7 separate regions of the Homo sapiens genome follow, and regions 1, 2, 4, 5, 6 and 7 are each linked to region 3. Evidence: promoter capture Hi-C in 16 types of primary human blood cells and fetal thymus (Javierre and others, 2016). All regions are on one chromosome and are shown on one strand. The core of a region is centred on a gene start or on the middle of the fragment in contact, and the rest is flanking DNA. Distances in the headings are between cores, read along the strand shown. Region 1 holds the start of KCNRG (potassium channel regulator). Region 2 overlaps SPRYD7 (SPRY domain containing 7). Region 3 holds the start of DLEU7-AS1 (DLEU7 antisense RNA 1). Region 4 has its middle 14 kb from the start of SPRYD7. Region 5 overlaps DLEU2 (deleted in lymphocytic leukemia 2). Region 6 overlaps DLEU2 (deleted in lymphocytic leukemia 2). Region 7 holds the start of TRIM13 (tripartite motif containing 13).

Evidence for each region. The method cuts DNA at HindIII sites, captures the fragments that hold promoters and counts their contacts. A CHiCAGO score of 5 or more calls a contact.
Region 1: a contact is called between the fragment with the promoter of KCNRG here and the fragment with the promoter of DLEU7-AS1 in region 3, in 12 of 17 cell types (naive B cells, total B cells, monocytes and 9 more). The highest score is 18.6, in naive B cells.
Region 2: a contact is called between a fragment that was not itself captured here and the fragment with the promoter of DLEU7-AS1 in region 3, in 2 of 17 cell types (total CD8 T cells and total B cells). The highest score is 6.0, in total CD8 T cells.
Region 4: a fragment that was not itself captured here is called in contact with the fragment with the promoter of DLEU7-AS1 in region 3 in 7 of 17 cell types (total CD8 T cells, total CD4 T cells, activated CD4 T cells and 4 more); the score reaches 10.1 in total CD8 T cells.
Region 5: a contact is called between a fragment that was not itself captured here and the fragment with the promoter of DLEU7-AS1 in region 3, in 7 of 17 cell types (naive B cells, total B cells, neutrophils and 4 more). The highest score is 10.6, in naive B cells.
Region 6: a fragment that was not itself captured here is called in contact with the fragment with the promoter of DLEU7-AS1 in region 3 in 3 of 17 cell types (total B cells, naive B cells and monocytes); the score reaches 11.2 in total B cells.
Region 7: a fragment that was not itself captured here is called in contact with the fragment with the promoter of DLEU7-AS1 in region 3 in 10 of 17 cell types (total B cells, naive B cells, naive CD8 T cells and 7 more); the score reaches 14.0 in total B cells.

What each region holds. Positions count from the first base shown.
Region 1 is chr13:50,013,963-50,018,143 of GRCh38, forward strand. KCNRG (potassium channel regulator) reads left to right here and starts at 1,482. Exons shown (of 2, transcript NM_173605.2): 1 at 1,482-2,109. The coding sequence starts at 1,532. It overlaps TRIM13 (tripartite motif containing 13), which reads left to right. Exons shown (of 2, transcript NM_213590.3): 2 at 1-4,181. The region is part of intron 10 of DLEU2 (deleted in lymphocytic leukemia 2); the gene reads right to left. The HindIII fragment of the contact is 12,687 bases long and covers 1-1,890 here.
Region 2 is chr13:49,922,097-49,926,369 of GRCh38, forward strand. All of the region lies in intron 3 of SPRYD7 (SPRY domain containing 7), which reads right to left. Among named protein-coding and RNA genes, the nearest start is that of SPRYD7, 12 kb to the right of the region's middle. The HindIII fragment of the contact is 4,281 bases long and covers 707-4,273 here.
Region 3 is chr13:50,806,511-50,810,263 of GRCh38, forward strand. DLEU7-AS1 (DLEU7 antisense RNA 1) reads left to right here and starts at 1,345. Exons shown (of 5, transcript NR_046551.1): 1 at 1,345-1,476; 2 at 2,030-2,196. It also overlaps a transcript of DLEU7 not described here. The HindIII fragment of the contact is 1,259 bases long and covers 1,292-2,550 here.
Region 4 is chr13:49,948,205-49,951,895 of GRCh38, forward strand. No RefSeq gene overlaps it. Among named protein-coding and RNA genes, the nearest start is that of SPRYD7, 14 kb to the left of the region's middle. The HindIII fragment of the contact is 984 bases long and covers 1,171-2,154 here.
Region 5 is chr13:50,030,689-50,034,601 of GRCh38, forward strand. The region is part of intron 8 of DLEU2 (deleted in lymphocytic leukemia 2); the gene reads right to left. Among named protein-coding and RNA genes, the nearest start is that of MIR16-1, 16 kb to the right of the region's middle. The HindIII fragment of the contact is 2,131 bases long and covers 1,517-3,647 here.
Region 6 is chr13:50,057,210-50,061,323 of GRCh38, forward strand. The region is part of intron 5 of DLEU2 (deleted in lymphocytic leukemia 2); the gene reads right to left. Among named protein-coding and RNA genes, the nearest start is that of MIR15A, 10 kb to the left of the region's middle. The HindIII fragment of the contact is 8,216 bases long and covers 1-4,114 here.
Region 7 is chr13:49,995,459-49,999,678 of GRCh38, forward strand. It overlaps TRIM13 (tripartite motif containing 13), which reads left to right and starts at 1,584. Exons shown (of 2, transcript NM_213590.3): 1 at 1,584-2,305. DLEU2 (deleted in lymphocytic leukemia 2) reads right to left here. Exons shown (of 14, transcript NR_152566.1): 11 at 1,616-1,961. MIR3613 (microRNA 3613) reads right to left here and starts at 1,043; the gene lies at 957-1,043. RefSeq lists silencers at 551-600, 1,191-1,320 and an enhancer at 881-1,010. The HindIII fragment of the contact is 4,396 bases long and covers 1-3,555 here.

The DNA of each region.
Region 1 (4,181 bases), core at 232-2,731, 790 kb before region 3:
TTAGATTTCCAAAATTTTCTACAGAGAGTTAATTATCACCAAAATGTGAATGGTACATACAAAACCTGGCATTTTCTTGTGATAAGTTTACATTTTTAGGAGAGTGGAGCTTTCAATCTGCCCTTTTCTCCTTTGTTTTTGTAGTTTTCACCAAAGATGATCAACTAGAAATGTTAAGTGGCTATGCAAGCAAAAGCATAGATAGGTTAAAAAAAAGGATCAGCTGGCTGGGCAGGGTGGCTCATGTCTATAATCTCAGCATTCTAGGACAGTGATGTGGGAGGATTATTTGAGGCTAGGAGTTCCAGTTCGAAACCAGCTTCGTAAACATAGCAAGACCCAGTCTCTACCAAAAAAAAAAAAAAAAAAAAAAAAAAAAAAAATATATATATATATATACACACACACACACACATATGTACACATACATATATATACATATATATGTATATATAGAACACATGGCAAGAGCAGGAAATGGGAAGACTACCTTTTTTCTGGCAGCTATGTGTTGTTTTGTTCGAAAGATGGCAAGTGTACAACCAAACCAATCCACTTGCTTACAGAAAGAATGTTTAGTGTAGTTAAGACTAATTTGACAACAGATAAAACAGTCTGTCAGCTATTACAAAGTAATCAGCTGAACACTAATGCTGTTCTGTCTGCTCACAAGAGATAAAGATACCCTCTCATGGAATAAACACCTTGCTTAGAATTCATATAACAAAGAAGTAACCTTATAACTGCTCTCTAGTCTGCCTTATTTGTGTCATAGAGTAAGATATTCCTTGAAAGCCCATTAAGTGGAATAGACTTTCTGAAAATAAGAGTTCTTTACCTCAGTCCTCCTCTAATTTGGTTGAGAGGAGGTAATGAAAATGGGGACAGGATAAAAGGTGGCAACTAAATTTAAAGCACAGAAGAAATGATTTCCTTCTAGCTATGAGAATAGTCAAATTGAGCTTGCCAGGCTGTCTCATTCCTAACATGTAATTCATGATTTAGCCACTAAATTTCTAAGGAGATCATAAGAAATTAAGAAAAACGTTTAAGTCTAGCCTCTGCGTGGTAGACAGGTATGGGGAGGGAGAATGCTTTTCCCCTCCCAGTAATAAAAAAAAAAAAAAAAAAAATATATATATATATATATATATATATATATATATATATATATATATATATATATATAGTTTTACTAGGTTTTCATGGATAAGTTTTTAAATGTAAGACAGGAAAGGGATCTATTTGATGTCTATCTTCAGATATATTGGCAGTTTTCCTTAAGCTATTTAGTTCCTCATCTGTTGCTTTTTCATTTTGTATACTGCAAGTTCCCAGGCAACTCGAATTTGCAAACACAGCCATGGATACACTATTTACCTTACAGTAGTTTCCTGGGAATCTAAGTCTGGTTTTTGTTATTCTTCCCTCCCCTCCACTGCATAATCATGTATAACTAGCAACATTTATGGTTATAGGTTGATTTCCTAAGTGTGGCTGATGGTAGCCTCTAGTTTGAAGTGAGGGAAGAATGAGTAGTCAGGAACTGGTCACTTTGAATGTGGGAGGGAAGATATTCACGACAAGGTTTTCTACGATAAAGCAGTTTCCTGCTTCTCGTTTGGCACGCATGTTAGATGGCAGAGACCAAGAATTCAAGATGGTTGGTGGCCAGATTTTTGTAGACAGAGATGGTGATTTGTTTAGTTTCATCTTAGATTTTTTGAGAACTCACCAGCTTTTATTACCCACTGAATTTTCAGACTATCTTAGGCTTCAGAGAGAGGCTCTTTTCTATGAACTTCGTTCTCTAGTTGATCTCTTAAACCCATACCTGCTACAGCCAAGACCTGCTCTTGTGGAGGTACATTTCCTAAGCCGGAACACTCAAGCTTTTTTCAGGGTGTTTGGCTCTTGCAGCAAAACAATTGAGATGCTAACAGGGAGGATTACAGTGTTTACAGAACAACCTTCAGCGCCGACCTGGAATGGTAACTTTTTCCCTCCTCAGATGACCTTACTTCCACTGCCTCCACAAAGACCTTCTTACCATGACCTGGTTTTCCAGTGTGGTTCTGACAGCACTACTGATAACCAAACTGGAGTCAGGTATTTTGTACTTTGCAGTATTTCTCTTGTATACCAGTTTGTGATGTTTTCTCTAAAAACTTGAAGTTCCTCAGGCCTGTAACTTCTGGAAAAGATGATTATTCAAAATAATGTTTTGGGGTAACCAGTGGAGTTGGGTAGAATGACCAAATAATTATTTTCCAAACTGGGATACTTTTTAGAGTGAAAGGGGCTATTATTAGGTGGGACAAAAGGAATAAATGAAGACTGCCCAGAAAAAACTGAGACTATGGACATTCAAATCATGGGAGAAAATAATTTTGTAGATTATGTTCCATTGCTAATGAATTTGACTTAGAAAAGAATTGCCTTATTTTTAAGAGATTGTTTCAGTGGTTCACATAAAGGCTCGCTCACTGGTTTCTCTTGAGTTCCTTACACACTATATAAGTTGTTCTTTCAGTTTTATGATTCAACTACTGTTTTTCCTTCAGCTGACTTTATTTTTAAACACCCTTAAAGACAGATATATCTCATGGCAAATTTGGTATCCTGTTACAGCCTTGGCTCTTAAACAACTCAAAATATTGGGATAGGCTGTCAGTATGTTAAGGATAGTTGCTCCTGAGTCAATTCTTCACTTACTCCCTCTGTTGTTCTTGGCTGGATCCTAACGCTGATTTCCACTCTGCTGTCACAAACATTTTTCCCCCCGTAAAATGTCTTAATGCTGTCCTACCATTATTTTACCAACTGTGAAAGCTGGCTTTAATTTTTAGGAGGAAAAGAAAAGCCTGCATGTGTTCTTTATTGGTATCATTTAAAATATACTTTTTTTTTTTTTTTTGGTAAAGGTAGGCGTATTTTAAGATATTTTCTTAACTTGAGCAGTAGCCAACAGGAAGGATACCAGTGTCTCTCTCTCTTAGCGACACACTCCTTGGTCTTGCTTACCAACTGGAGGACACTAGGTAGAATAACCGAGTATGACAATTCTTAATTGTTTACATTTTATAACTTCCTGTCCTTCAAAAGAGTTTGAAATGTCATTTTGGGAAAAGAGAGCCAGTCAAGCTAGTAGGCTGATTGTGAAGAAAATCTAATACCTTATCTTTATCTCAAACCTCTGTACAACTTTATTTTCATTGATGGGATACTTTAACAAAAATGAAATTTTTTTTGGTTTTTAAAATATGAGTGATTATGACCTCTTTGGGGATCATGCTTCAAAAAGTCAGAAACCTAGAGACAAAACTGTCATTGATTTTTAAGAAGAAACACACTAGGTCAAAAGAAGATGTCCTGGAAATACGAAGTACTCTTTAAAAACCATGCATTTGGAGAAAGTAATTGTTTCCTTGAAAAACATGATTAAAAACTAAAACTGGGATGTTCCTGTGTGTACACAGTGCCAAATGGTTTTCCCTTTTTATGTTGTGTTTTAGAAACAGCACGAAAGTTTTTTCCATTTTAAAGTGAGAAAACATTATATTTAGACTTCCATAATTCCAAAATCAGAAGCTATTTTTAAAATTAGCATTTTCTTGCATCACCAAATGGTATTCAATTGTTTGAAGCTCAAAATTTTTACCATTCCATAAATGTTTGTGAATTTTTAGACAGTGCCAATTTAAAAGTAGAGATAGCCAATCTGAATACGGTGAAATTATGGGGATCTCTGGTGATTGGGATGAAAACTCTGGCCTTAAAAGGTCCACTTTTAGTATATAATTGCCTAATTAGCAATCATTTTTATTTTTTGCTCACTCCCTGGTCTGAATCTATCTGTCTATTCAGATATTTTTTGGTAGGTTTGGAAAATGGAGAAGTGAGCCTAATTGGTGCCTAATTGTCTGGTGTATCATTCACTTTATTCAGTTTGTTCTATCAATATGATTTACCCCTCAAGGTTAACCTAGCAGGTTGCTCAGTTATTATCTCTCAAGGTCACAGTACTAGAAATACTTGGCTTGCATCTTTCAGATGCCATTCATGTTATCAAGCTCAAATTATAGTTGGTCACAGGATTCTAAAGTCTTTATTTGACTTCTCCTTTTTGAACTGGCTCAAATGGAAAAGTGTAGTTGCTTTTAAATGTTAAAAATAAGTTT
Region 2 (4,273 bases), core at 1,597-4,096, 880 kb before region 3:
TGTGTCAAGTGTATTATCAAGGAAAAGCTGGTGTTCACAACTGAATAAAATTGGTAATTAGTTTCAAGTTAAAAAACAAAAATAGTAGCTCAAATGATTTAAAAAACAATGTAATAAAATTACTCGGTACACTATTGATGGAAAAAAATCACAATTAGTGATATTAATAATTATTGTTAAAATAATTATTTTATAATTATATAAATAAAATATTTATTTGTATAAATATAAATTATTTATATAAATAAATAAAAGGCTAGAAAAGACTTAGCCCATGTTATAAACCAATAGTGCTACTATTCTAGGCAGTTCATATTTACTCATTTAATCCTCACAACAAGACAGTATTACTATCCCCATTTTACAGATGAAGCTAAAGCACAGAAAGATTAAGTAATTTACCTAAGGTTGCACAGCTAGGAAGTGGAAAAGCTGTGATTTAAATCCATACAGTATGGTTTCAGAATCCTTGCTCTTAATCACAATACCTCTCTCTAAATCACCATGCCTCTCTTTAAACACTTGCTCTTAATCACCATATCTCTCTTTAAAACTTTATACAATAGCTACTAACTGATAACAAAAAGAGATCTTTCCCTTGAAAGACAGCAGAGATCTTTCAATAGAGAAGTCATCATAGACCAAGAAGCAAACCACTTCAAGGATTTCAGGATTTCTGACTGTGGATACATTCTATCAAGTTAAAAGCTTTTTAGAGGTAAAAAAAAAAAATTTTATAGATCATCTTAGTCTTAAATTCTCTCTCTTTACAAGCAAGACAGCAAAAGCCCAGAGAAGCTAATGTGGTAAGTGGTATGAAAGATTCTCAATTCTTAGCAAAGCCAGGGTTAACTTAAACAATTATTAATAATTAAGGAATACTGAGAAAGATAAATAGTACATAGATTGCCTTTGCTTCGCTTTAGTTTATGTCTTTAGATAATAGTAATAAAGCTAGCTGATGGCTGGGATTCACTTTTCTAATGAAAAAGTCTGTTTTCATTTTAAAAAACAAAAACTTAATTACATAAAAAAGAAAGTATGTTACTCTCATTATGGGACTACCAGAAATCTAGCAGTTCAGATCAGTGAGGTTGTAATCCAGGCACTTTCATCCCCCAGTGGCCGATTGCAAACAAACAAGTTTGTTTTTTGTTTTTTTTTTGAGACAGAGTCTCGTTCTGTCACCCAGGCTGTAGTGCAATGGCATGATCTTGGCTCACTGCAACCTCCACTTCCCAGGTTCAGGAGATTCTCCTGCCTTAGCCTCCCCAGTAGCTGGGATTACAGGCGCCCGCCACCATGCCTGGCTAATTTTTGCATTTTTAGTAGAGATGGGGTTTCACCATGTTGGCCAGGCTGGTCTTGAACTCCTGACCTCAAATGATCTGCCCGCCTCGGTCTCCCAAAATGCGGAGATTACAGGCGTTGGCCACCGCGCCCAGCCTCAAACAAGCAAGTTTTAAACCCAAGCCTGCAGTAGCAAAATCCCAGTACCAAAGAAGTGAGGAAAGATGTGAGAAGTCCCACCCTCAGTATAGTTTAGTTCAAGTATTTTCTTTCTTTTTTTTTTTGAGACTGGGTCTCACTCTGTCGCCCAGGCTGGAGCGCAGTGGCGCGACCTTGGCTCAGTGTGATACGCCCGCCTCAGCCTCCCGAAGTGCAGGGATTACAGGCATGTGCCACTGTGATGGGCCAGTTCAAGTGTTTTCTAACCTAATCTATTCTATGATGAAGAAACTGGGTTTGATTCTGCCAAAATGATAGCAAAATATACTGTGTGTTCTATGTCTTTATTAATAATTGTGTGCAGGTTAGTGAACAGATTCTGAAATTAGACTGCTTCAGGTATGATCTTGGTTTTTGTTTTTGTTTTTGAGACAAGGTCTTTTTTTTTTTTTTTGAGGCAGAGTTTCGTTCTTGTCGCCTAGGCTGGAGTGCAATGGCGCAATCTCGGCTCACTGCAACCTCCGCCTCCCAGGTTCAAGTGATTCTCCTGCCTCAGCCTCCCGAGTAGCTGGGATTACAGGCATGCACCACTACGCCTGGCTAATTTTTTGTATTTTTTTTAGTAGAGACGGGGTTTCTCCATGTTGGTCAGGCTGGTCTCGAACTCCTGACCTCAGGTGATCTGCCCACCTCGGCCTCCCAAAGTGCTGGGATTACAGGCGTGAGCCACCGCACCCGGCCAGAGACAAGGTCTTGCTCTGTGTGGCCCAGGTTGGGTGGAGTGCAGCGGCAGGATCACGGCTCACTGCCGCCTTTATCTCCCAGGCTGAAGCAGTTCTCCCACCTCAGCCTTCCAAGTAGCTAGAACTACAGGGGCATGCCACTATGCCCGGCTAATTTTCTTTTTAAATTTTATTTATTTATTTATTTGTTTGTTTGTTTGTAGAGATGGGGTCTCACTATGTTTCCCAGGCTGGTCTCAAATTCCTGAGCTCAAGGGATCCTTCTGCCTTGGCCTCTCAAAGTGCTAGGATTACAGGCATGAGCCATAGTATCTGGCTGAGCTATATAGTCTTGTAATTAACTCACATAAGAAGTTACTTAATTTCTCTTAATCTGTAAAATGGGGATAATAATACTACTACCGTACGGGCGTGGTGGCTCACACCTGTAATCTCAGCACTTTGGGAGGCCGAGGTGGGTAGATCACTTGAGGTCAGGAGTTCCAGACCAGCCTGGCCAAAATGGTGAAACCCTGTCTCTACTAAAAACACAAAAAAATTAGCTGGGAATGGTGGCAGGCACCTGTAATTGTAGCTACTCAGGAGGCTGAGGCAGGAGAACCGCTTGAACCCGGGAGGTGAAGGTTGCAGTAAGCCGAGACTGCATCATTGCACTTCAGCCTGGGCAACAAGAGCAAAACTCCATCTCAAAAAAAAAAAATAAATAAATAATAATAATAATAATAATAATAATAATAATACCTATTTCAAAGGGCCATTATGAGCATTAAACAATTTAATCCTTGCCAGGCACTTAGAGCAGTGCCCATAATAAATGCTTAGGTCTGGGCACGGTGGCTCATGCCTGTAATCCCATCACTTTGGGAGGCCAAGGTGGGTGGATCACGAGGTCAGGAGTTCGAGACCAGCCTGTCCAATATGGTGAAACCCCGTCTCTACTAAAAAATACAAAAATTAGCCAGGCGTGGTGGCACGCACTTGTAGTCCCAGCTACTAGAGAGGCTGAGACGGGAGAATCGCTTGAATCCAGGAGGTGGAGGTTGCAGTGAGCCGAGATGGCACCACTGCAATCCAGCCTGGGCAACAGAGTGAGACTCCATCTCAATAAATAAATGCTTAGAAGTGTTTGTTATTGTTATTATTACATAGAATGTTTATAAGACTTCTCTAAAAGTAAACTGATACATGCATGTTAGAATGAAATTTGTACTTTTCAGAATTATATGTATAAGGAGAAAGTAGGCCGGGCACGGTGGCTCACGCCTGTAATCCCAGCACTTTGGGAGGCCGAGGTGGGCAGATCATGAGGTCAGGAGTTGGAGACCATCCTGGCTAACACAGTGAAAACCCGTCTCTAGTAAAAAATGAAAAAAATTAGCCAGTCGTGGTGGCGGGCGCCTGTAGTCCCAGCTACTCAGGAGGCTGAGGCAGGAGTATGGCGTGAACCCAGGAGGTGTAGCTTGCAGTGAGCCAAGATAGCGCCACTGCACTCCAGCCTGGGTGACAGAGCGAGTGGCCATCTGAAAACAAAAAAAAAAAAAAGGAGAAAGTGAGCATAAACTGTTTCATGTATGTCTTTCTAGTTCTGTAGCAGGCCGTGCTGTACTGGGTGATTATCATATGAATATAATCATATAATCATTTGGTTAGATGTTCACAGCTTATTTTTCTTGATTTCTCCTCAGAGAATGGTACATGACTTAAATTCTAAACACATGAGAATGCTTTTCCTGTCTTATAATCCATTCTACTTATTGCATGCCACTGTTAACAATTTGGTAAAATTTGTTCTCCAGTGTTTGAACTAGTTAAAATAGCAGGGTAATGTTTTTCTTTTCTTGGCTCTGCATGTATTTCATAGTTTTAGTTCTCCTTTTATGAGAATGAGCTCATATGAAAACTCGAAGTCTAATTTAACAACACTGACAGACTAAAAGTGGCATTCTTCAGTCTGTCACACTGTGCTATCAGACATTACAATGAATGAAATGAGATAGGAAGGCAGGTAGAAGTTTCAGTTCATCAACAAAGAAAAACATTTGTTACTGATTATCCTTTCTTATGTTTGAATTTCATCTTTT
Region 3 (3,753 bases), core at 95-2,594:
GAAAAATTTGTTTTATATTTTCTATTGCCCTAAATTCTGACTCATATTAGACAGCTCGGAGTAATATTTAATACTTGAAACTTCACAAGTAATTACAAATAAATAAATGCTATAAATATTAAAAAATAGGAGCAATCTCAACTTTATCCTCACATTTTTCTGCTAAGACTTATTTAGTTACATATTGGGCTTATTTTAAAATTTAACCAAAATTATTTGATCTTTAATTATGTTTTTACCTAGAAATGTATATTTAAAAATAAAGTGTAATTCCAGTTGTATTTATACTATTCAGAATTTCAGAAGTCTGTAATCCCAGCTACTCGGGAGGCTGAGGCAGGAGAATTGCTTGAGCCTGGGAAGTGGAGGTTGCAATGAGCAGAGATCGCACCATTGCACTCCAGCCTGGGTGACAGAGCTAGACTCACTGCACTCTAGCCTGGGTGACAGAGCTAGACTCCCTCTCAAAAAAAAAAAAAAAAAAAAAAGTCGGTCTGCTCCTCTGCCTTTTTTTTTCCTACTTTTAAGAGTAGTCTGCCTCCGCAAACTTTAGTAAAGAAGTACTAAAATTAAGTGTGTTAAATGGTGTTAAGATATATATAAAAATTAATTTTTAAAGAGAGTTTAGATTGTTATCTTTAAATTTTTTTATACATTTCATAAAACATAAGTATTTCCTAATCATTAATAGGTTTTAATGAGCTTTAGTAGATGAGCAGAAATATCAGAGATATAAAATGATACTATACCGGCTTCCTTAAGAAGCTTTCTATTATTTCTTAGAATCCTGCTTTATTCTCTTTCTTGAATTCATACATGGCATTTAAAAATCTCTTAAAGATGGTCATCAAAAACAAACAAATTTTTTAAAAGATGGTATTTGACATCTCCCCTCCCTCCTCCTGCTTCTCTCAAGCACCAGTTTCCAGGTACCACTGCCTATAAAGCCTTTTCCAAACACAAATTTAATCTTTGAGTGTTGAGGTTTTTTTGGTGTTTTTTTTTTTAAGGTAATGTATTATCCTATGCAATGATATTGAGCTTTTGACTGAGAAATTGTGAAATCAAAAGTAAAGTATAGGAATTCCTTAATGGACATTTCAAGAACTTTGAAAGGCTATTGTAAGGGGAAGAAAGAGGGAAAATCTGTTTCAGTAGGAGACCTTCTCACCTCTTTACTCATAAGCCAGCCCGGGCATCATATGACTTCATCAGACTGCAACTTACTGTTCTCCCCTTTGTGGGGAGTGTCAAATGCTATAATAGAGTTCTCCAGTCTGAGGTCAGCGAAAGCTTCTCAAAGGAGATGATGCCTGGCTAAAGGGACTTTCTTTCTGAGAAAGGGATCAGCATGTGCAAAGATGAAGAGGCATAAGGACTGACCAGTGGGTCACGGCAATGAGACATTTACTGCTGACCTCCAAGAGAAGACTTCCATTGAATGAGAGGAAGATCTACACTACTAATGATCAAACTGTGAGTGTTTTAGCTTTGTAGACTTATCAGGAACTTGGGAGATCAAGAAGACAGGATCAAACAGCAAATGGAGCTTTATCAGAAATGAAGAAAAGCATTTCTCCACAGTCCTAAGCTAAACCCTTTCTGCTAGTCCCAGTTCTTATATGTGCATCAAGGCAAAAAAACATTAATCAGAACAGGAATGTTTGATTGCTCATTCAAATTTGAAATAAGCAGCTTCCATTCTTCTAACCTTCCCTGGTGGGGCCATAACATTATCAATCAATATCAAGTCTGGCATATCATTGGCTATCACTATCCAGTGAGTATCTGAGGCAGCTGAAAGAAATTGGGGCATCCATGTAAGAATATTCATTTTCTATCATTATTTACTTAAATATGTAATATATCAAGATCTGTTAGACATATTTAAGTATATATACTTATATGAGGTTGGGGGTCCCTGCAAGAAGTACCAAGTGTTTCTAGAAGAAATGTACTTGAATATAATCGCTGTATAATCACTGTGAGAACAGAGTTCCATATCTGTCCTGTACATGCTTGTCTCTAGTACCTGGAGCAGTATCTGACACAGATATGTGTTGAGTGAATGGATGAATAAATAGATAGAAGGAAGATCCTCCAACTATGAAGTTTCTTCTTTTCTTCTGCTGCTGTTGAGTAGATGAGGGTGCCAAGAAATAAGACAGCAACACCAGGAAGAAGAACAAATTTGGGGTGAGTAGGGGTGGAAAGGATGACTGATTTATAAATTGGGTTTAGGAGCCAAGAGTTATGCTCTAGCAATTGGGTATAGTAGAAGATATTTAAATAAGAAATTGCTGATATTCTTGCAAACTGAGCTTTTCTGTAAAATCATGAGTTTAGAATTCTTTATTTCAGAAGGAAAAAAAAAAACTTAGAAAGGTCAGTTGGAACAAAAAGGGAAATTAAAAAGCCACAGAGAGAAACAACTATGGTGTCCTGGGGTACATTTAAAATAAGAAGGTACTTAAGCAAAATCATTGCGTTGAGGACATTTTCTTAAATAGGATCAATTACCAGTGTCCCAGTCAATTCCACATGTCAAGAAGCTTGTCTACCTACTTGACTGACCCAGGCCTAAAAATGATAATAGCAACTTGGTGGAGTTATCTAAAGTTTGACAACCTTTCCTCACCAACCGGCAGCCCCATAGGACATATTAATCACTGCAGTTTTTACCTTGTACCAGATATTTAGAAAGTAAAACCGAAGAAATTTATTTCCATGTGTTTTGGTTGAAAAAAAGAGACGTTTCACTCAATCTATTCCAGAAAATATAGCCACTTTGGGACTGAACATTTCTTTCCATCTTAGCCCAAAGGCAATCACATTAGGGACGTTGTATGCAATTGGGGTGATAAAAATTGAGCTGTGGTCTAACCTATTGCATAATTTTCATTCTAAAATTACTTGACGCCGGACATAATGGCCCCATCAGTCAACCTATCATCTGGCTAGTTAAATGAAGTAAAATAACCTCAGCTGGTCTCAGAGGAGTGAGAATTCAACTGCCTGAGGGGTTGAGATTTCCTGAGAGTTTGTTCTGGATCTCTGTTGGGTCAGCCAGCATGCAATCTTACCTTCTGTCTCCACGGAAAAGCCCATTCAGGCCAAGGGAGAAGCTGCTTTAGATGAAGGCTGTAACCCAAGATGGAAACACTTAACCAGGCCAAAAACACTTTTTTCTTTTTGGTGGATCCAGTGCACAATGATTGTTCCTAATTAGGAGGTCTGACTTGAAAAGTTCTCCCCAAATGCCAGGAGAAAGTTCTCCTTAAGTGTCTTTGCAAAAAAGATACAGTGGGACAGAAAGTCAGTATTGATTTAAGGAACACAGCTGCATAAACAATGTTCATTCACCACAAGAAGAAAATTTATAGTATTTGTCAGGGAAAAGTAAACACGTTAGGGACTCTGTTTGTGACACAGTGTCACACATGATCCTTTGAGCCAGCAGGGACAAGAACAGATCAACAACAGAAGCAGCTTTCTCATGATGCTTGGGGTAGCACTTTTTTTTTTTTAACCTAACCCATTTTCTGCTTCATATTTTAAGAGGACATTACATTCAGACCATTGATACGTCTGTGGATGTTGGGGAAAGAGAGGAAACTATAGTGATGAGTCCTCTACCATCCTCATTCTCTATACTTTCCGGAAAAGAAATTCTGGAAAAAAAAAAAAAAAAAGCTAAAAAGCTAAATTCTCTTAAGAATTTCAGTGGTTGTAGGCATTCACTCCTGAAGCTAT
Region 4 (3,691 bases), core at 413-2,912, 860 kb before region 3:
AGCAAAGTTTCAGGATACAAAATTAATGTACACAAATCAGTAGCTATACACCAACAGCGACCAAGCTGAGAATCAAATCAAGAACTCAACCCCTTTTATAATAGCTGCAAAAAAATCACATACCTAAGAATATACTTAACCAAAGAGGTGAAAGACCTCTACAAGGAAAACTACAAAACACTGCTGAAAGAAATCATGGATGACACAAACAAATGGAAACACATCCCATGCTCATGGATGTGTGGAATATTGGGAAAATGACCATAGTGCCAAAAGCAATCTACAAATTCAATGCAATTCCCATTAATACCACCATCCTTCTTCACAGAACTAGAAAAAACAATCCTAAAATTTGTATGGAACCAAAAAAGAGCCTGCATAGGCAAAGCAAGACTAAGCAAAAAGAACAAATCTGGAGGCATCACATTACCTGATTTCAAACTATACTATAAGGCCATAGTCACCAAAAACAGCATGGTACTGGTATAAAAACAGGCACATAGGCCAGGTGTGATGGCTCACACCTGTAATCCCAGCACTTTGGGAGGCCGAGGTGGGCAGATCACCTAGGTCAGGAGTTCGAGAACAGTCTGGCCAACATGGAGAAACCCCATCTCTACTAAAAATATAAAAAATTAGCCAGGCATGGTGGCACGTGCCTATAATCTCAGCTACTCAGGAGGCTGAGACAGGAGAATTGCTTGAACCCAGCAGGCGGTGGTTGCAGTAAGCCAAGATCACACCATTGCACTCCAGCCGGGGCAACAGAGCAAGACTCCGTCTGAAAAAAAAAAAAACAGGCACATAGACCAATGGAACAGAATAGAGAACCCAGAAACAAAGCCAAATATTTATAGCCAACTGACCTTTGGCAAAGCAAACAAAAACATAAAGTGGGGAAAGGACACCGTATTGAACAAATGATGCTGGGATAATTGGCAAGCCACATGTAGAAGAATGAAACTAGATCCTCATCTCTCACCTTATACAAAAGTCAACTCAAGATAGATGAAAGACTTAAATCTAAGACCTGAAACCATAAAAATTCTAGAAGAGAATATCAGAAAAACCCTTGTAGACATTGACTTAGGCAAAGACTTCATGACCAAGAACCCAAAAGCAAATGCAACAAAAACAAAGATAAATAGATGGAACTTAATTAAACTAAAAAGCTTCTGTAGAACAAAAATAATTAGAAGAATAAATGGACAACCCACAGAATGGGAGATAATTTTCACAATCTATACATCCAACAAAGGACTAATATCCAGAATCTACAAGGAACTCAAACAAATCAGCAAGAAAATAAACAAACAGTCCCATCAAAAAGATGGATGTGGTGAAAAGGGAACACTTTCACACTGTTGGTGGGAATGTAAACTAGTACAGCCACTGTGGAAAACAGTGTGGAGATTCCTTACAGAACTAAAAGTGGATCTACCATTTGATCCAGCAATTCCACTACTAGGCATCTACCCAGAGGAAAAGAAGTCATTACAAGAAAAAGACACTTGCACATGCCTGTTTATAGCAGCACAATTCACAATTGCAAAAATATGGAACCAGCCCAAATGCCCATCGATCAACAACTGGATAAAGAAAATGTATATATATGCACCATAGAATACTACTCGGCCATAAAAAGGAATGAAATAATGGCATTTATAGCAACCTGGATGGAATTGGAGACCATTATTCTAAGTGAAATAACTCAGGACTGGAAAACCAAACATTGTATGTTTTCACTCATAGGTGGGAGCTAAGCTATGAGAATGCAAAGACATAAAAAATGATAAAATGGACTTCAGGGACTCAGGGGAAAGGGTGGGAGAGGGGTGAGGGATAAAAGGCTACACATTGGGTACAGTGTACAATGCTCAGGTGATGGGTGAAATTTAAAAATCTTGAAGAAAAGGTTATTTTAAAATAATGTAAATTTGCTAATTAATTCCATGATAATATCCTTCACTTTAATGAGATTATTCTCATTTTCTGGCACTTACAAAAGAGCTCATTCAACTTTTCAATATATTGAAAAGATATGTCATATAATTTTACAATATTTTAACTTCAGTGTTTAATTTTTCATTGAACCAAAAAATTCTACAATAATGTCAAATAGTGAACAAAGTCTTAAAATAACTTCCTTTGACAAGCTTAGAGAAGCCAAATTTCAAATTATTTTTCATTATCATTGCACAGTTTTGAAATCTATTATCTATTGCTCATAGATTTTTTTTTTTTCTTATTTAAAAATTGGGGTAAGGCCGGGTGCGGTGGCTCATGCCTGTAATCCCAGCACTTTGGGAGGCCGAGGCGGGTAGATCACCAGGTCAGATTGAGACCATCCTGACCAACATGGTGTAACCCTGTCTCTACTAAAATATAAAAAATAAGCTGGGAGTAGTTGCAGGCATCTGGAATCCCAGCTACTCAGGAGGCTGAGGCAGGGGAATCACTTGAACCAGGGAGGTGGAGATTGCAGTGAGCCAAGATCGTGCCACTGCACTCCAGCCTGGCAACAGAGTAAGACTCTGTCTTAAAAAAAAAATCGGGGTAAAAAATATAATTATTCACACCTGTTAGGCAGAATAATGACCCCCAAAGATCTCCACATCTTAAACCACAGAACCTGTGAATATATGGCAAAAGGGACTTTGCAGAAATGATTAAGTCAAGGATCTTGAGATGGAGAGATTATCTCAGATTATTCCTGGTGAGCCCAATATAATCAATCACAAGGGTCCTTATAAGAGGGAGGTAGGATGATCAGATATGTAATGATGGAAGCAGGGGTTGGAGTGTTGTGGAACAAGGAATGTGGACAGCCTCTAGAACAAGCTTGTCCAACCTGTGGCCCACAGACTGCATGTGGCCCAGGATGGCTTTGAATGTGGCCCAACACAAATTTGCAAATTTGTAAACTTTCCTAAAACATTATGAGATTTTTTTTTTTTTTTTTTGAGATGGAGTTTCACTCTTGTTGCCCAGGATGGAGTGCAATGGTGTGATCTTGGCTCACTGCAGCCTCTGCCTCCCAGGTTCAAACGATTCTCCTGCCTCAGCCTCCCAAGTAGCTGGGAGTACAGGCATGAGCCATCACGCCTGGCTAATTTTGTATTTTTAGTAGAGATGGGGTTTCACCATTTTGACCAGGCTGGTCTCGAACTTCTGACCTCAGGTGATCCACCCATCTTGGCTGGGCGTGATGGCTCATTCCTGTAATCCCAACACTTTGGGAGGCCAAGGTGGGTGGATCACTTGGGGTTAGGAGTTCCAGACCAGACCGGGCAACATTGTGAAACCCCGTCTCTACTAAAAATACAAAAATCAGCTGGGCATGGTGGTGCATGCCTATAGTCCCAGCTACTTGGGAGGCTGATTCAGGAGAATCGCTTGAACCTGGGAGGTGGAGGCTGCAGTGAGCTGAGATTGCGCCACTGCACTCCAGCCTGGTCGACAGAGTGAGACTCCATCTCAAAAAGAAAGTAAAGGAATAAAGAATGGCTACCCCTTAGACTGCAGCCCTGAGGGCTGCTGGCTGCCCATTTTTATAGTTATTTCTTGATTATATGTTAAACAAGGGGTGGATTATTCATGCCTCCCCTTTTTAGACCATATAGGATAACTTCCGGATGTTGCCATGGCATTTGTAAACTGTCATGGCACTGGTGGGAGTGTAGCAGTGAGG
Region 5 (3,913 bases), core at 1,332-3,831, 770 kb before region 3:
CTTTATTTATAAAATGTAATGATATTCAGCATATACTTTATTAAGGCAAGAAAATATATTGAAATATTACCATTTTTATTAATGTTTTAGAAAATATTCAAACAAGGTTTAAAATGATTATACTCCAGAAGCTTTACAGGTGTTAAATAAAATTTTTTTAAAAACTAGGCCAGGTGCAGTGGCTGATGCCTGTAATCCCAGCACTTTGGAGGGCCGAGGCGGGCGGGTCACCTGAGGTCAGGAGTTCGAGACCAGCCTGGCCAACATGGTGAAACCCCGTCTCTATAAAAATAACAAAAAAACGGCCGGGCGCGGTGGTTCATGCCTGTAATCCCAGCACTTTGGGAGGTTGAGACGGGCAGATCACAAGGTCAGGATGGTCTCAAGGTCAGGAGATTGAGACCATCTTGGCTAACACGGTGAAACCCCGTCTCTACTAAAAATACAAAAAATTAGCCAGGTGTGGTAATGGGTGCCTGTAGTTCCAGGTACTCGGGAGGCTGAAGCAGGAGAATGGCGTGAACCCAGGAGACGGAGCTTGCAGTGAGCCAAGATCACGCCACTGCACTCCAGCCTGGGCGACAGAGCAAGACTCTGTCTCAAAAAGAAAAAAAAAAAAAAAATCAGCTGGGTGTGGTGGTGCACGCATGTAATCCCAGCTACTCAGGAAGCTGAGACATGAGAATCGCTTGGTCCAGGGAGGCGGAGGTTGCAGTAAGCTGAGATCGCGCCACTGCATTCCAGCCTGGTAACAGAGTGAGACTCTGTCTCAAAATAAGTAAATAAATAAAAATAAAATAAAAGTGATTGTAAACTTCAATTAACAGAATCATCCAGAACTCCAGATTGCCCCATTGATTCAATTAAATTTTTGTCTGATAAAACTTTTAGAAATTCTTTTTCTTTTTTTTCATTTGCATTGCCTTTCCTTTAACAACTTCCAGTGGGGGTAGTTTTCCTTTTTGTTAATCACGTCTCACACAGTCAAGGTGTCGATCTGACAAAGAGTAAGAGAAATGAAATCTAACATAGTTTCTATAAATGGTAAAGTTAAACACAATTTCCAGAACTCTAAGATGATGTTGAATTTTCCACATAAATCTATGAGATTATATTTAATTTTTCCCATCTGCTATTTTAAGTAATATGTCAGTATACTAAATATCTCTAAAATGAATATATTGAAGGCTGACTCTCTTCTAGGATTATAAAAATTTGGGACAAGACAGAGCCAAGTTCAATATCTTATTTAAAATTTAAAGGCTTAGAGAAAGACAGTAACTTAAGGTCTTTCAACTAAGCAATGACAGAGCCAATTCTCAAGTATTTGAATATGACCACAATTAACTTCTCTGGGACAGGAACAGTTTAAGCTTCTGTTTACACTGTCATTTCTCGGGCAAAGTTACCAAGCTACCTAAATACTTCTTTAGCATAATCACAAATATGAATTTTATTATAACACATTATAATCTTTTATTCTGTTTCATTTCATGGCCTTCTAAACGTGTGGGTAAGCTTTAGCTTCTTGTACATGCTCAACTGTTATCTTAATAAAATGCATCCTGATGAAACTGAAGAGACTAGCAACAGAGGCAAGTGCCTCTGAACAAAGAGACATGTTGGATGAATGAATAGCTATACACACATAATTGACCAGTTTGAGACTTTAAAAATGAGGGCAATGCAGAAAATAACTTATAGATTCTCAACATAAGAATCATCAAATTAATCTAATGAACATTTTCACTTCTAATTTATATTTTTACTTTTTGCATATTATTCTTAATTCTTGTATGAATTCTTCAATGAATTCTAAGTTATTTCTTTAGACATTCCTATGGTTAAAGCATTTTCCCCCATAACAGCAAGTAAGATAATTGAAAGATTAGAAAAAGGATTATTTAATCTAAAAAATTCACTTTACTATTTCTATGAGAACTTTTATCTTTTCAACTGAGAGAAGCTAAATACAAAAATACTGAATATGAAAAGTAAATACTTTGAAAAACAGAGAAGGCCCTAAGATTAAGATTGTTTATTGGAAATAGGATTCTTAAGATTTATCTTTTAAAACTGCCATGCTAAATAAGTCAGATTGAATCATTATTAATTCAAATAGATATCATCTACTGTGTCAGATGTTTTCATTTTGTTTTCTTTATATATGGAAGAAAACTGTTTAGCTAAAATATAGTAGATACCACAAATTGTAAAATTATACATTCTAAATGAATACATTAAAATGAAAAATAAGCAGCACAATTTTATATAAAAGATTATAATACTAGGCTGGGCACAGTGGCTCATGCCTGTAATCCCAGCACTTTGGGAGGCCGAGGCAGGTGGATCACAAGGTCAGGAGTTCGAGGCCAGCCTGGCCAACATGGCGAAACCCGTCTCTACTAAATGTACAAAAATTAGCTGGGCGCGGTGGTGTGTGTCTGTAATCCCAGCTACTTGGGAGGCTGACGCAGGAGAATTGTTTGAACCCGGGAGGCAGAGATTGCAGCGAGCCAAGATCAGGCCACTGCACTCTAGCCTGAGTGACAGAGCAAGACTGTCTAAAAAAAAAAAAAAAAAAAAAAAAGGGAATTCTCAACTACTTTTTTAAAAAGGAGTTCTCTCTATGGAAGGCCTAATTTGGAAATGTACTTGGGTCCCTATACAAAGTCGTCCAGAAGCCAGATGATTTCCCAGTGTAGTCCAAAAGCCAGATGATTTCAGGGCAAAGCATTTGAATGCTATGGATTTAGGTAGGCAAGATCCAGAAGCAGAGTACTGTGGGTCTGGGTGGGCAGGTAGAATTCAGATGCTGGGAAAAACACAAACGCAATGCTAGGAAAAAGGGTCATGCCTTACAATTCAGGTGGGACAGATACAAATGAAATAGTTTCTTAATGAGGTAGAAAGAGGAAGTTATTAATTCCTGTTCTTGTTGGATTCTAACATACAAGCTAATTTGAATTCATCAGCCTAAGCAAGGTTGCCTTGGATTTTGAAGTTTTCTTAAGGAATAAACTGTAGAGAAACCATAGGGCCAACCAGATGGATGATGAAATGGAAAAAACAGCAATTAAATACTTTTAGAAAGTATTACAAATTAATACCTTAAAAACCCTGTATCTTGAGCTAGTAGCAAAACTAACTGGAATTCCTGACCTCTGCAGTGCCTTCTTGCAACATCTCAGAAAAAACATCTGGGAATCCATTTTAGTCTGCTAAGAGACTTAAGATTTACATCAGATATATTGTCAAGGTTTCTCTTGTCCTTGTTACCAAGGAGGTAAAAGAAGTGTTGTAAAATTTATTCCTCAGCTGGCACATTATCTCAGTGAGAAATAGAGCCCTTACAAAGACTTATCTTAGACACAAAACTACATTATTGTACTTGGCAAGTACCATTTCATGCTTCTCATTTTTTTCCTCTGATCCTTTAATGAAACTGTGATGTTGATGATCTATAAATTTGATCTAATTGAGGCTAGAATTCTACTGAAAAGATAATTTCTGAGTAGCCATACCAATACTGATATCAATGTATTTTTTAATCAGAGAATTAACATATTACTGAATGTATATGAGGTTACCAGCCTATTTACTAGTCACCAAATGACCTGAGTTCAATAAGACAGCCTCTGGGCTCAAGCTTATTAGCCTTACAGGCTAATAGCAGGGAAATATAGAAGCATGTAAATCATGTGATGATTTAACATAAGCAATAATGAGACTGTTTTAAGGGTGATAGTACAGAAAAGGCAGTTATTTATTTATTTTTTTTGAGATGGACTTCCGCTCTTGTTGCCCAGGTGAAGTGCAATGGCATGGTTTCAGCTCACTGCAACCTCCGCCTCCTGGGTTCAAGTGATTCTCATGCCTCAGCCTCCCAAGTAGCTGGGATTACAGGCATGCA
Region 6 (4,114 bases), core at 323-2,822, 750 kb before region 3:
GAAGATAGCTTTAAAATTCAGTGTTAGGAATACGCATTCAATAAAATAATAATCAGATTTAATCCAACATGACTGTTTTATAATATAAAAAACCTAGTTGTTGAGTTTAGGCAAATATAAAGTTTTACTGTTTCTAAACTGCCTTGATTTCTTCTGATGAAAAAATGACTGAAAGATTGCTTAAAAACTGTGTATGAAGTAGATTTCAATCTGGAAAATTTATTCCAGAAAGTCAGACTATATATATAAGCCCCCCAAATGTTATTTTAATATTAGATTCTCTTATAATCATTTCCTTATACAAAAAGTTAAACTTCTTAGAAATCAAACATTCATATTTTATTTGATGACTTTACTTCCTAAATACTAAGTATGACTAAATTACAAATATATCATGTTAGTCAAGAAATGCAATATAAAAAGGTTTGATAAATATGCTATTTACATTTTTTCTTACATTCTTCTTTTGCTCCCTTTTATGTCCTAATCATTCATACTTGCCCATTGTTATTCTTTCTTAACACTCAATTTTCATCTTGTGTCAATCATCCCTTGTATTCAGCTAGTCAATAAAATGAATTGATTCTTTAAGACCTCAGTTCATTGATTTCTTCGCCATTCTTGATTTCATACCTTAAATCTGGATTTAAGTACCTTATAAATCCAATTGCATTTTAGCTGGACCTCCTAGTCCTTAATCAATTAATAAATCTTCCCAAAGTTACATATTCAAGAATGTATCTAGGCTGGACGAGGTAGCTCATGCCTGTAATCCCAGCACTTTTGGAGGCTGAGGTCGGAGGATTGCTTGAGCCCAGGAATTTGAGAGACCAGCCTGGGCACCATAGCAACACCCCATCTCTACAAAAAAAAATTATTATTATTATTTTTTAACTTTTATTTTAAGTTCAGTGGTACAACTGCAGGTTTGTTATGTAGGTAAACTTTTATCATGGGAGTTTTTTTTTTTGTTTGCTTTTTTTTTTTTGAGACAGAGTTGCACTCTGTTGCCCAGGCTGGGGTGCTGTGGCTCAATCTCGGCTCTCTGTGACCTCCACCTCCCAGGTTCAAGTGATTCTCCTGCCTCAGCCTCCCGAGTAGCTGGGATTACAGGCCAGCGCCACCAAGTCGGGCTAACTTTTTTGTATTTTTAGTAGAGATGGGGTTTTGCCATGTTGGCCAGGCTGGTCTTAAACTCCTGACCTCAAGTGATACACCCACCTCAGCCTCCCAAAGTGCTGGGACTACAGGCGTGAGCCACCATGCCAGGCCTGTCATGGGAGTTTGTTGCACAGATTATTTCGTTACCCAGGTATTAAGCCTAGTACCCATTAGTTATTTTTCTTGGTCCTCTCCATCCTCCCACCCTCTATCCTCCAAAAGGCCACAGTGTGCGTTGTTCCCCTCTATGTGTCCATGTGCTCTCATCATTTAGCCACCCCCACACAAAAAATTTAAAAATCAGCTGGGCATCTGTAATACCAGCTACTCAGGAGCTGAAGTGGGAGGAATCACTTGAGCCCAGGAGTTTGATGCAGCACTGAGCCATAATCATGCCACTGCACTGAACTCCACTCCAGCCCAGGTGACAGAGCAAAACCTTGTTTCAAAAAAAAAAAAAAAAAAAGTAATTTCTAGTTTCCTAAGTAGAATCTCTACTTTCTGCCTAAGTATCAAGGTCTGTATAATTAAGATCTATCCAATGTTTCCTGCTTTTCTCCAAAGAAAACACTTCCATTCCAGTTAAATGGTCTCTTTTAAGACATTAACAACCACTAAGAACCTTTGAATACAGAAAATTATTCTCATTATTAGGTACTGTGTTGGGCAGATAACTGGTTCCCTATTCCATACTTATCTCTCCATTCAAAATGGACTAGCTGTGAGGAAATCTTTACTAGTATAGACCATGCCATTTCTTCAATCCTTTATCTTAGTCCACTGGAAATATCATCATGACTCCATCCCTTAAATCTCTGCTTTTACGTTTGCTGGCTGAAAGAAAAGCCACTTTGCCTAACCAGATACAGAAAGAGCCCTAATGGCTAGATGTAGAGCCAAAGAAAAGAGCTTCTAAAAAAAAAAATACAAAAATATTCTGAAGACAGAATCATTCAGTCCTTATCCTTTACACAACAACCATAGTTCCAAGTCTGGTGGTTTATATTCTGGGCTGTGGGCCTTTGATATACCAGAACTCTCCATTCTTATAATCTTCCAACAAAAAAAAAGTAGTTATATTGAAAGGTGAGACAAAATAAGTAAATTAAATGTCTTGCTTAATAATTCAACTTGAATATAATAAATCTGAGTAGATGGGAATCTTTAAATCTCTTAAGTTGGTTTTCTATGTTAGAATTTAATATATTTTAAGAAATATGGAAAAAATAAATTGTATATAAGTTAATGTTTTTTCCTTGTTAATGATTTACAGCTCTAATTTTATTTCCAATAACATTTTTTAGACATTTTCTTACATGTGCTCTATTATCAGTTCATCTGTAGTTTACATAAAGTTGTTATTGCATTTAACAAAATCATTTAGAAATTCTTTTTATTTATTTATTTCTGTCCTTACAATCTGTTCTCATTGAAATTCTAGTCATGTCTCCTAAACTACAGAATCATCCTCAGTACAATAAATCTACTGGTCAATTTCTACATTTTAAACTTACTATCAGTAAAATAAACAGCAGAAATTTATACAAGCACATCTAGTAGTGAACAGGTGTTCAACAAATGCCTACTGAATCTAAATTTACAGGATTTGAAATTCTAACACACTTAAGTGTTTCAGTGAACTGCAGCTCAACATGACCCGATAGTATTGATGAAAAAAAAAGCTAGTGCAATCAGACTGCACTATAGAACTTTATTCATAGATGCAGTGTGTTTTGTACCTATACTACATTAAGTATATTGCAATTAATTCTAAATACAATTATTTAAAAAGGAATACTAACAAAATGTAACAGATCCAAAGTAGGGTATCCAGAAAATATTGGTCTAGAAATTAATATGGTCTAGAAAAAATATGGTCTAGAAATTAATGCTATATGGCAACAGTGGAAGGACCTCAGAATGTACAGCTTAGAGAAAAGACATAAAAACAATTTTTAGACAGTAGATCTAGGGCCAGAGAACAAAGTTATAAACAGATCTTCAAATGATGTTTCATTCAACATTGTTTCATTTTTAATACTGAAGAGGAAAAATATAGAGATTTCTGTCTGGGGCCACAGTGTGTGGAGTTTCCACGTTCTCCCCATGTCTGCATGGGTTTTCTCCCACATCCCAAAGATGTGCATGTTATGTTAGTTAGCACATCTAAATTGTCTCAGTATGGCTGAGTGTCGGGGTAGGAGGACACCCTGTGATAGAATGGCATCCTATCCAGGGTTGGTTCCCACCTCGCATCCTGAGCTTCTAGGATAGGCTCCAGCCACCTGCAACCCCAAAGTGGAGTAAGTGGGTTGGAAAATGAATGAATGTAAATTACTGCAAAATAAAAACTTGTCAAATATACAATCATCATACAAATGCACAACAACAAATGATGTAGTATGAAAGTGCTCAGCAAGCATGCCATATTTGTTATTGCTTGTTTTTGAACAACATGGTAGTAGAAGGTGCTCCTTACAATTTCTGCTTTACAAACATTTATTCCTTATTTTAACTCACCACCACTATGACCATCATCGCTGACTCATCAAAAATTGGGTAAATGATGATCTTGTTTCTATTAAACTTTCTTAAATGTATGTTTAACTCACATTTATTTCACAATGTTTAATACCAGAAATGTGTTGGATCTTTATTTAGAAGGTGATGTTCTTTGTGACCAGAAATAGGCTATAGGAACTTAACTCTTGTTTATATCAATTAGCCTATGGTGAAACTGGTTTTATTCTATGTCATTTAGCTTAAAGCTGCAGTTTCCAAGAATCTATTCATTACTTTAAGTGAGGACTTACTGTACTAAGTTGAAACCTGCCCTCTGATGAGAAACTTATTTTATGTTAATTAACATAAATGTAATTTATAACGTAAAGGAAAACATTTGTTTACTATGATTCTAATTCTAATATTCTAGGGTCAAAATAAAATTAATAAA
Region 7 (4,220 bases), core at 108-2,607, 810 kb before region 3:
GTGCTGTAGAAAGAGCCCATATCTGGAAGCTGCCTTTAGCCTCAGCTCTGCCTCTTGCTTTTGTACCTTGGAAAAGTCACTTCACCTGTTTTCTCATCTATATAGGATGAAGATCATAATTTCTTTTACACAGTGTTATGAGACTGAATGACAGAAATTAAAAGAAGTGTTCTACGAAGGCAAAGTTAGGTTTCTTATAGCAGGAAGGGAGATGCACACAGAGAAGTGGGAATCTCAGGAGACGGATGTGGCCAGGGGCTTTTTACGGGGGTTGGGCTAAGCATTATTAGTCAACGGGCTGTACTGCTATTTATGGTAGGTTTTGAATACCGTTTCTCCAAAATAACCTATTTCCTCCCCAAACCCAAACTTCCTCAACTGGGATCGAACTCAATCCTACAGCGTGTTCTGAGATTCTATACTCGCCTCACTTCTCCCAAGATCGTAAATTCTGGAGGAGCCATTCCTTCATCATCCATGTTTGCATCCTTCACACCGTTCACTGGTTAAGTGCTTAGTACGTTTGCTATTGGGCAAGGTCCTCAAACGGGAGGTGGACGTCAGAATAGTCAGGTTATCGACTGAGTAACTGTTAGTGGTGGATAATTTAAAGCCAATTTGAAAGTTCATCCTTTCCCCCAAAGGCAAAAACAGGCGTTCCTTTTCTTAAAAGAGAATTTTAAATAGAATTGGGTCTCTGGTGTCCTGCCTAAAGCCCGCAAAGAAAGAGGGTACGGTTGGGGGTGGGGGTGATGGGGGATACTGAACCCTTTTCTGGTTGCGCCTTGCCCGGAGCCCCCGGCTAGAGCCCTGGCGCTCCTGGCGCGCTCCCAACGCGAATCGGTGACTCCGCAGGCCGCGCAGTGCGGAGGTGCCCGTCCCACCCTCCCCCTTGTGGGGTGCGGGGCTCCATTTCCCCAAGCCGCTGGGGTCGGCTTCTGGTCTTGAGATGCGGATGAAGTGGTGTGAAGGGTTGGGCTTTTTTTTTTGTTCCTAAAAATGCAACGAACAAAAAAAAAAGTACAACAATCCAAACCCAACCATCTTAATTGCACGGCAGCTTAACTGGGAGACTTTCTTCCCGGGCGGCCCCACCCGGGACCGCGCCGCTTCAGTCGAGCCCACCGTCTGGGCAAACGGCGTCCACTTCCCGGAGCCGCTGCCCAGCCTCTGCGGGGGGGCTTTGGGCGGGCGCAGGACTCTGGAAGGGAGAAAAGCCCGCAGCCCGGCCCTCCCCGTCCCAGGCGGCCCGCGCGGGTGGACGGCGGGAGCAGGCGGCGGTTGGAGACGCCGGAAGGAACGCGGTCTCACCACCCGGCTCCCTCCGCCAAGGCGAGGCGCGGCCGGGGAGGCGGGACACAGGCGAAGCGGGACGGGGAGGCGGGGCCGGAGGTGCAGGCGGAGGCGGGCGACGGGGAAGGGAGGGGGAGGGGGAGGGGAAAGGGAGGGGGAGGGGGAGGGGAAAGGGAGGGGGAGGGGGGAAGGGACGGGAGGGGAGGGGGAAGGGACGGGAGGGGAGGGGGAAGGGACGGGAGGGGAAGGGGAAGCGGGAGAGGGAAGGGGGCGGAGCTAGCCGGAGCCGCGAGTCCATTTTGGGGCTGTGCTTGGCGCGTACCGTGCGGTCCCTGTAGTTGGAGGACGGGCGGTCGCGCGGCCTTTCCCACTAGCCGGAGGTCGGAGATAAGTACCCGCCGCCCGGCTCCTCTCGGGAAAGCGGGGTGGTCCTCGAACCTTCAGCGAGGGTGGGGAGTTGCCCAGGTCAGCAGGGATCTGCGTGGGTTGGGGGGGCTGGCGAAGGCCGTCTGAGCTCCAGTCCGGCAGCGCGGCAGAAACCAGCGGGGCACTGTCATGGGCCTGGGGAGGAGCGGCCTGCGGAGGGCGCCGGGGCAGTGTGTCTGTGGTCCAGAAAACCTGCTCCGTCCGGAGCCTTCCTGGCCCCGCTACCAGCGTCTCCACATCCCCTAGAAAAGAAAAGACGGGTGTGGGCCTTAGGTTACAGCGCGCCGCCAGCGTTTGGTTGCATGGCGCCGGGGGAGGGCGCCCTAACCGAGAAGCTGCTTAATACAAAGAGCTCCAGGCTCCTGGCGGTTCACCAGGTCTAAACAGCCGGGCTTTATTTGTGGGGGCGATTGAAAAAATTGAGGGTCAAGATTGGGGTGCTGTGCAAATAAATGCGTTAATACTGTTCTTTTTCTTCTTTCTTTGCAGTAGCCTCTAGTTCGTTAGTCAAAACGTGAAAAAAAAGACCTGCTTTGCCCTGGGAAATAGTAACCCTGCCAAATACATCAGCTTGTAGGAGACAGAGGTAAACTACAATAATTTTCCTGTGTTATCTTTTTTTTTTAAACACCCAATTTCAATAGGCCCTAGAACCTTCCAAAATGGAACTGTGTGTAGAATACGTATGTTCCCATCCACTTTCATTGGTGGTCTTTGTTCTTTGCATATTTTGTTAAAACTTAGAAAAACAGAATTCACGTTTAGCAATTATTTATGTGGTATTTATCTTAAATATAGCCAAACATTCATATTACAAAGGAAGAAAGGGGCTTCCACACTTTTTTCCTACTTTTTTTTCCCTTCTCCTATGCTTAGTGAATTGTCAGGCTGCTAGGGCTTGTAGAACAGGGCTTGAGTTTTCTAGAGACCTTTATATAATAGGCACTTTAAAAGCAGAATTTCATTTACATAGGCACTCCTTCTAGTAGAACTTGATGGAGCTGTTAACCGGCTATACTTCCTTCTTGCACAATGGGAGCGTCCCTATCCCTCCCTAAAAATACGTTTTTTTTCCTTTCTCCCAGCTGGCTTACTAAACCTCCCTGGGAAGTCCTTTCCTAAAACCGGGCTGTTCTGTTCATTCTATACATTTATGATAGGTTATCTGGCCTTAATTCTGTCACAGCTTTTGTTCAGATATGCTCATTTTCATGACACTGCTTTGTACCTGATACCTTATGTAATATTTGTTTTGCCTTGCCTTGAAATCACAGTTCAAGTTTAGAACCTTTTCTTGCTTGATACACTGATGCTCCAAAATAACACCTTAAATGTGTAGAGTTTGCCATATGTAATTAAACCTTATTTATGTTTGTATAGTTTCGTAGTTTATGGAATTCTCACACATCACACAGGAGTTGAGAAATTACTTTTAGGCAGCTAGAAAGGGTAAAAGAGTTCTCGGTGGAATTTTCCTTTAATAAAAAGCAGCTCCTGGCCGGTGACTTTGGGAGGCTGAGGTGGGTGGATCACTTGAGGTCAGGAGTTCAAGACCAGCCTGACCAATATGGTGAAATCCCATCTTTACTAACAATACAAAAATTAGCTGGGCGTGGGGGTGCGTGCACCTGTAATCCCAGCTACTCGGGAGGCTGAGGCAGAAGAACCACTTGAACCGGGACGCAGAGGTTGCAGTGAGCCAAGATCGCGCCACTGCACTCCAGACTGGGCAACAGAGCGAGACTCTACCAAAAAAAAAAAAAAAGCCCCCAAACCATTTATTTTCTAACAGAAAGCCTGAAAAGTCAAGCTGCAAGCAAAAATATGCAGGCTAGAAGCTTTTATATGTAAATGTAGCCTGCTGTATCTGGAAGCCAGGTACATTCAATATGGGGTTTCTCACTCCCTTTTCCTTGTCACCCTATGTGGGCGTCTGGGCCGCTCCCTTTTCCTTGTCACCCTATGTGGGCGTCTTGGCGATCACTAGGTAAAACCACGGGTGCAGGTGTCATGGCGGCCCCAGGTAGAAGCTACATTTGCATAACAAAAAATTAGGGTGGGAGGGCCAGTCTTTAGACGGGCTATGTAAATGATTCACCTGGTCAAACCAGTCCCCTGGGCCCTATGTAAATCACCACCTCCTCAAGCCTCTGTACAAAATCGATTGCGTTTCACCCCAAACCCGGAGACCCTCTCTTGGGTGATATTTCTCAGCGTGAGGAACCTTTCCCTATTAAATTTTCCGCTCCTAAACCCACTCCTTGTGTGTGTCCATGTCCTGAATTCTTTCTTGGCTCGAGACAACCACGGGTGTATCCCCCAGGCAATGGAGCCATTTCATTATGAGGTAAATACTATAAAAATCATTTTTAAATTTTTTTCCAAGAGATGGGATTCTCAACTGTGTTCCCCAGGCTGGTCTTGAACTGGGCTCAAGTGATCCTCCTGCTTCAGCCTTCAGAGTAGCTGGGACTACAAGTGTGTGGCACCATTCCCAGATA